Regions from separate parts of the Homo sapiens genome. Here region 1 is linked to region 2. Evidence: promoter capture Hi-C in 16 types of primary human blood cells and fetal thymus (Javierre and others, 2016). All regions are on one chromosome and are shown on one strand. The core of a region is centred on a gene start or on the middle of the fragment in contact, and the rest is flanking DNA. Distances in the headings are between cores, read along the strand shown. Region 1 has its middle 29 kb from the start of GUCY2D. Region 2 holds the start of ALOX15B (arachidonate 15-lipoxygenase type B).

The links. Contacts are between HindIII fragments. The CHiCAGO score rates a contact against its expected background, and 5 or more counts as called.
Region 1: a contact is called between a fragment that was not itself captured here and the fragment with the promoter of ALOX15B in region 2, in 1 of 17 cell types (endothelial precursors). The highest score is 6.0, in endothelial precursors.

Annotation. Positions count from the first base shown.
Region 1 is chr17:7,971,257-7,975,119 of GRCh38, forward strand. No RefSeq gene overlaps it. Among named protein-coding and RNA genes, the nearest start is that of GUCY2D, 29 kb to the right of the region's middle. The HindIII fragment of the contact is 1,495 bases long and covers 1,271-2,765 here.
Region 2 is chr17:8,037,320-8,040,838 of GRCh38, forward strand. It overlaps ALOX15B (arachidonate 15-lipoxygenase type B), which reads left to right and starts at 1,740. Exons shown (of 14, transcript NM_001141.3): 1 at 1,740-1,983; 2 at 2,067-2,286; 3 at 2,583-2,664. The coding sequence starts at 1,837. The HindIII fragment of the contact is 10,323 bases long and covers 536-3,519 here.

The DNA.
Region 1 (3,863 bases), core at 768-3,267, 66 kb before region 2:
ACAGAGTGAGACCTTGTCTCAAAATAAATTTAAAAAAAAATTTTTAAGAACCACCCAAAAGCTGACTTTTCATTCATTTCCAAACCTGCTTTTGAGGCTGGACTTTTTAATTTCTTCCTTTTTAAAATTTTTACCTTAGAGACAGGGTCTCACTGTGGCACCCAGGCTGGGGTGTAATGGGACCATCACAGCTCACTGCAACCTCAAACTCCTGGGCTCAAAAAAGTAATCCTCCCGGATTAGGCTCCCAAAGTGCTGGGATTACAGGTGCATACCACTATACCTGGCCTTTTGTATTTCTTAGAATTGCATTTTAACATTCATATGAGGAGAACACACACAAGTTTAAAAACAGGCGTTTCCTCTGACCTCAGCTGGCTTAGACAGAAGGTGAAGAAAGGTTATGTTCTGCAGGATCTTTTAAATAAATGGTTTTTAAGAGGTGTCAGTTGCCAAAATGCAAATAGGTGGGAAAAAATAAAAAAGGCGTCAGCCGGCTTTTAACTCTTTAAACAAAAACTGTGAAAGTCTCATAGCCTCAGCCCAGGCATCCCCAGGCAGAAACAAGGACTAGATAAAAGCAGGGAGAGTTGATCATTGACTCAATTAGGCTGAATCAATCTTGTCATTGAGTTCCCAAGGAAATTCAATTACAGGTCAAGTGTAGGAAGCCCTGTGATTGTGGCTTAAGCAGTAGAAATGCCAGGTAGTCGATAGCAGCCTGGGGATGGATTTGACTTCAAAGCCCCTGAATCTGTAGTGGGAAGAAAAGGCAGGAGAGTTGTCGAGAGGAAGAGGCTCCTGGAGTTGAAGAACCAACCATCAAGAGGTTTGCCCCAGGCCAAGGGGGCACTGGACAGACAGGGCACCAGAAATGGCACTGCCACCCCCACCAGCCCAGGTACCCGACCTGACGGTAGTGACTCACCAGCCAGAAGGGCTCATGTGTAGAACCTTCAAGACTCAGTAGGAGACTCCAGCACCAGCATCTCCAGCTAAGTTGAATTGTCTGTGTGGCCAGAAACTGCACTACCAAGGCCAAGGCCAGAGGGTGGGGCAGTAGGCTCTGTAGGGAGAGCAAAAGTCATGGTGGAGGCCAAGAGGCAACTCTCCAGGAATTCCTTTTCCCTGAGGAACTAAGTCTAAGAGAGTCATGGAAGTAACTGATCCCTCTAGCAGTGACACAAATATTGCAAGAGAGTCTTAGAGTCAAAACCCAGAAGCCATAAAAAGACTGATATATTCCACTATGTTAAAAACAGCAAGAAAAAGCTTTTGTATGGCAAAAAAAATTATAACTATATTGTACTGCAGTTTTGTAATATGTTACCACTGGGGGCACTGGACTAAGGATATATGAGATGGCTCCATATTTTTTTTTAACCACTGTATTTGAATCTATATTTATCTCAAAATAAAATGTTTCATTAAACTTTTATATAAAGGCTGGGCGCGGTGGCTCATACCTGTAATCCCAGCAATTCGGGAGGCCGAGGCGGGCGGATCACTTGAGGTCAGGAGTTTGAGACCAGCCTGGCCAACATGGAGAAACCCTGTCTTTACTAAAAATACAAAAAAAAAAAAAAAATTTTAGCTGGATGTGGTAGTGTTCCCTGTAATCCCAGCTACTGGGGAGGCTGAGGCAGGAGAATCGCTGGAACTTGAGAGGCAGAGGTTGCAGTGAGCTGAAATCACGCCATTGCACTCCAGCGTGAGCGACAGAGCGAGACATCATCTCAAAATAGATAGATAGATAGATAAATAAATAAATAAAGTTATAAATAAAAGGCAAAATACATAAAAAGAGCTGGAATAAGTACTTGCAACTCATATCAAAGACCAAGGGCTGGCTGGGTATGGTGGCTCTCACCTGTAATCCCAGCACTTTGGGAGGCCGAGCCAGGCAGATCACCTGAGGTCAGTTCGAGACCAGCCTGGCCAACATGGTGAAACCCCGTCTCTACTAAAAATGCAAAAATTAGCTGAGTATGGTGGCAGATGCCTGTAATCTCAGCTGCTCAGGGGAGGCTGAGGCATGAGAATCACTTGAACCCAGGAGGCGAAGGTTGCAGTGAGCCGAGATTGCGCCACTGCACTCCAGCCTGGGGGATAGAGTGAGACTGTGTCTCAAAAACAAACAAACAAACAAGCAAAAGACCAAGGGCTAATGCTGTAATTTACAAAGAGCTTCTAGAAATTGAGAAGAAAAAGACCACCAATGCAGTTTAAAAAAAACACACACACCACTGCTGGGCACGGTGGCTCACGTCTGTAATCCCAGCACTTTGGGAGGCCGAGGTGGGAGGATCACCTGAGGTCAGGAGTTCGAGAACAGCCTAGCCAACATGGAGAAACCCCATCTCTACTAAAAATACAAAATTAGCCAGGCGTGGTGGCACATGCCTGTAATCCCAGCTACTCAGGAGGCTGAGGCAGGAGAATTGCTTGAACCCAGGAAGCAGAGGTTGTGGTGAGCCAAGATTGCACCATTCCACTCCAGCCTGGGCAACCAGAGCAAAACTCCATCTAAAAAAAAAAAAAAAAAAACTACACACACCACCAATCCAAAACAGAAAGAGCAAAGGACATAAAGAGATAGTTTACACACCAAAAATATAAAAAGTCTTTAAATTCATGAAAAGAAGTTCAACCTTTCTCATAAAACAAATGCAAATTAAAACTATAGTGAGACACCATTTTTTTCTACCAAACAGATTGGTAAAAATCCCCAAATCCTAAAGTTGGACAATGTACTCTGTTGGTGAAGCTTTTTTTGTTTTGTTTTTGAGACGGAGTATCGCTCTGTTGCCCAGGCTGGGGTGCAGTGGTGCGACCTGGGCTCACTGCAAGCTCTGCCTCCCAGATTCAGGCCATTCTCCTGCCTCAGCCTCCCGAGTAGCTGGGACTATAGGTGCCCGCCACCATGCCCGGCTAATTTTTTGTGTTTTTAGTAGAGACAGGGTTTCACCATGTTAGCCAGGATGGTCTCGATCTCCTGACCTCATGATCCACTTGCCTCGGCCTCCCAAAGTGCTGGGATTACAGGCGTGAGCCACCACGCCTGGCCTGGTGAAGCTTTAAGGGAACAGAGACTCTTTGCATTTATGCTTTAACCCAGCATATGGGGCACATATATAAGATATGTTCATGAAATACCAATCCATGCATAAAAATGAAATGACATAGCACAAGGGTATTAATTGAGACACTGTGATAGCAAAAGAGTGGAAACAATTCAAGTGTCTAGTAATGGGGACTTACTGAATAATTTATGGTCCAGCCACATAATGGATTAAATATAATATTGGCTATAAGAAAGAAAGAGGAAGATGTCTATGAACTTATGTAGAAAAGGTTCCTGATTTATTATTGCTAAGTGAAAAAAGCACTTTTCAGAACAGTAAAGCATATGCTGCCACTTAGGGAAGAAAAAATGGTCAGAATACATCTCTGTAAAAATGTTACCTCAGGTGGAAGGAGAGAGGGGAAAAGTGAAGGAGGCAAGGGTGGAAATGAGGTTTCTCTGTAATGCTGTTGCTGAAATGTCAGGGGATCAGTTTACTGCACAGAAAGCCAATCACTGAGACAACAAGTATTGCCAGAGAAGAAGGCTATAATCAGGCACTGCCACCAAGGAGATGGGAGATCAGTCTCAAATCTATCTCCCTGGCTGGCTAAAATTATGGATTTATATAATAGGGAAGAAATGTAACCATGTGTGGGAAAACAGGAATTAGGGAGGGGTTAGGAAGGGAAGTTGGTCAACAAGAAGCAGGTGGTCTGTTAGGCAACCATGATGGGTGAGGAGTCTGGCATCTCATTGTCCAGATGTCATGATCTGGTAACTTTCAGCTCCTTGATAC
Region 2 (3,519 bases), core at 490-2,989:
ATGCCTGACCATGATCTCATTCTTTTTCATGGCTGTATAGTATTCCATGGTATATATGGAATATACATGATAAGTCACTCTCACTTCAGTTGGCTTTCATGAAACACTGTGACAGGCACAAGAGGACAAAGTGTCTGCCGGCATCGTTCTCCTCCTACCTCATTGACTGAACTTTGCTGCTTCCACTCCTTTGCATGACTTCCAAATATCAGAGGACCTTAGGGCACAGCTTGTGCCTCTTCTCTTCTCTACTTATAGGATATTCTCTGCCTAGTGATCTCCACCAGCCTGTGGTATAGATGTACCTGTGTGCTTGTGACTCAAAGATGCACACCTGCAGTCCTGAGCTCTATGCCCAGACGTGGGTTCTCCACTTGGATGTCTAATGGCCATCTCAAACTTAGCATCTCCAGACCGAAAACCCCAAATCTGTTATGTTATTCCCCCAAAGCCCAAATCCATAACTTCCCCTTGGCATCTCTCCCCCAAATCCCTCCCTCACTGCACTCTTGCCTTTCCCTCCTCCAACAAGCCAAGCTTTTCCTAACCACAGGGCCTCTTCAGGAACAGTTTCCTCTGCACAAAACTCTGTTCCCCAGACAGATCCTTTCACCTCCTCTGAGGCTCTGAACGCCTCCCTTCCCACCTCTGCTTCTCACTCCTTCACATTAGTCTGTTTCATTTCCTTCATTGCACTTATTATCATCTGAAATTATGTGTTGGTTTACTTATTTTCTCTCACACTTGATTTTTTTTTTTTAGACCGAGATTTGCTCTGTCGCCCATGCTGGAGTGCAATGGCACAACTTCACCTCACTGAAACCTCCGCCTTCCGGGTTCAAGCTATTCTCCTGCCTCAGCCTCCTGAGTAGCTGGGACTACAGGCGCCCGCCACCACGCTTGGCTAATTTTTTTGTATTTTTAGTAGAGATGGGGTTTCACCATGTTGGCCAGCAACTGTGCCTGGCCTCACACTTGATTTTTAATCTCCATGAGAGCAAGCACTAGGTCTTGCCTGGGCCTTTATCAATAGCAGTGAGCATAGCACCTGGCACAGAGGTAGTTCTGAACATTAATTATTGAATGAAATAAAATAATGAATGTAGGCTGGGCGCGGTGGCTCACGCCTGTAATCCCAGCACTTTGGGAGGCCGAGGCAGGCGGATCATGAGGTCAAGAGATCAAGATCATCCTGGCCTACATGGTGGAACCCCGTCTCTACTAAAATACAAAAATTAGCTGGGCATGGTGGCACTCGCCTGTTGTCTCAGCTACTGGGGAGGCTGAGGTAGGAGAATCACTTGAACCCAGGAGGAGGAGGTTCCAGTGAGCCGAGATCATGCTGCTGCACTCCAGCCTGGCGACAGAGCAAGCCTCTGTCTCAAAAATAAATAAATAAATAAATTTTAAAAATAATGAACGCAGGCCCAAGAAGAGTTGTGGGAAATGGGGTGATATTTTTGCATAGACTTCTAAGGCTAAGAAGGAAAACAAACAGACGTGGTGGGCACAAATCTACCCCCACCCCAACTGGGTCCCAACTCTAGGCTCTCTGGCCTGGCACCACCACTGAAAGGCCCCGTTCCCCAAACCTCAGGGTATTCTTAGTCCCTCCTGTTCCCAGCGCTGCCAATCCCCCGCCCACCCCCACTTTAGTTGCGTGTTCCAGCCTCTCCGCCCCGCCCCTCCCCGCCCTGAAACGGACGTGCTTTTTAGAGGAGTCCACTGGGCTTGGAGTCAGTGGCAATAACCAGGGGCAATAACCAGGCGTGTCCCAGGGGGGAGCCCCGCTCTGCAGCCCTGTGCGCCGTAGAGAGCTGGACTTAGGCTGGCAGCATGGCCGAGTTCAGGGTCAGGGTGTCCACCGGAGAAGCCTTCGGGGCTGGCACATGGGACAAAGTGTCTGTCAGCATCGTGGGGACCCGGGGAGAGAGCCCCCCACTGCCCCTGGACAATCTCGGCAAGGAGTTCACTGCGGGCGCTGTGAGTGCGTGGGAGTGGATGGGGTGGAGGTGAAGGGGGCGAGCAGGAGGGTCCGGCCTGACGCATACTTAACCTCCCCTCAGGAGGAGGACTTCCAGGTGACGCTCCCGGAGGACGTAGGCCGAGTGCTGCTGCTGCGCGTGCACAAGGCGCCCCCAGTGCTGCCCCTGCTGGGGCCCCTGGCCCCGGATGCCTGGTTCTGCCGCTGGTTCCAGCTGACACCGCCGCGGGGCGGCCACCTCCTCTTCCCCTGCTACCAGTGGCTGGAGGGGGCGGGGACCCTGGTGCTGCAGGAGGGTACAGGTGAGGGGCGGGCCGGGCTGGGGCTGCAGGGGGAGCACAGGAAGGGGTAGGGGACTGGGGGTTGGGGAGAAGGGCAGGTGAAATGGAGAGGTGAGCTGGTGTGGCCACAGAGTAGCGGGCAGAGGAGAGGGAATGGCGGAGCCTTGGGGAGCGGGAGGTAGCAGCCTGGTGTAGGAGAAACTGTACTTATGGGAGGAGGGGACCTGGTAGAGGGTGGCAATCGTGGAGACTGTGTGGCTGGTGGTAGTGATGGTGAGTTTCTCTCCCCACCCCAACCTACTCCCCTTCTCCCACAGCCAAGGTGTCCTGGGCAGACCACCACCCTGTGCTCCAGCAACAGCGCCAGGAGGAGCTTCAGGCCCGGCAGGAGATGTACCAGTGAGGAGGGGGTTACTGATGGGGGAGGGTGTGCCCAAACGATGAGGGGCAGCTTGAGTGTCCTGGTCATGACAGAGATTAAAAGCCCCTGCCTCCACCTCTCCTATCAAAGCTGCTCCTGGGATCAGCAGCGTCTACAGGAACGTATTAGAAATGCAAATTCTCAGGCCACCTCCAACCTACTACGACACTGAGGGTGTAGAGTGGGAATTTTTGTTTTGACAAGCCTTCCAGATGACTCTGGTGGCCACTGATGTTTGAAAAACACTGCTCTAGGGCCAGGTGCCGTGGTGGCTCACACCTGTAATCTCAGCACTTTGGGAGGCTGAGGGAGGCGGATCACTGGAGGTCGGGAGTTCGAGACCAGCCTGGCCAACAGGGCGAAACCCCATCTCTACTAAAAATACAAAAATCAGCTGGGTAGGGTGGCGGGCACCTGTATTCTCAGCTACATGGGAGGCTGAGGCAGAAGAATAGCTTGAACCCGGGTGGTGGAGGTTGCAGTGAGCCGATCACGCCATTGCACTCCAGCATGGGGGACAGAGCAAAACTCCATCTCAAAAAAAGAAAAAAAAAAAGGAAGGAAGGAAAAGGAAGGAAAGAGAGAAAGAAAGAGAGAGAAAGAAAGAAAGAAAGAAAGAAAGAAAGAAAGAAAGAAAGAAAGAAAGAAAAGAAAGAGAAAGAAACTGCTTTAAATGCCTTACCTTTGCTGGTGTCTTCCTTGCCCTGGGACTTTTTCATGCATCGGCTTGTTGTGTCCTCCCAGAAATCTGAGTAGAGCCAGAAACACGCCCTTCAAGCCCCAGGAAACTCACCCTCCAGGGCTAGCAAGGGGTGAGATGGGGGCTCTCTCTG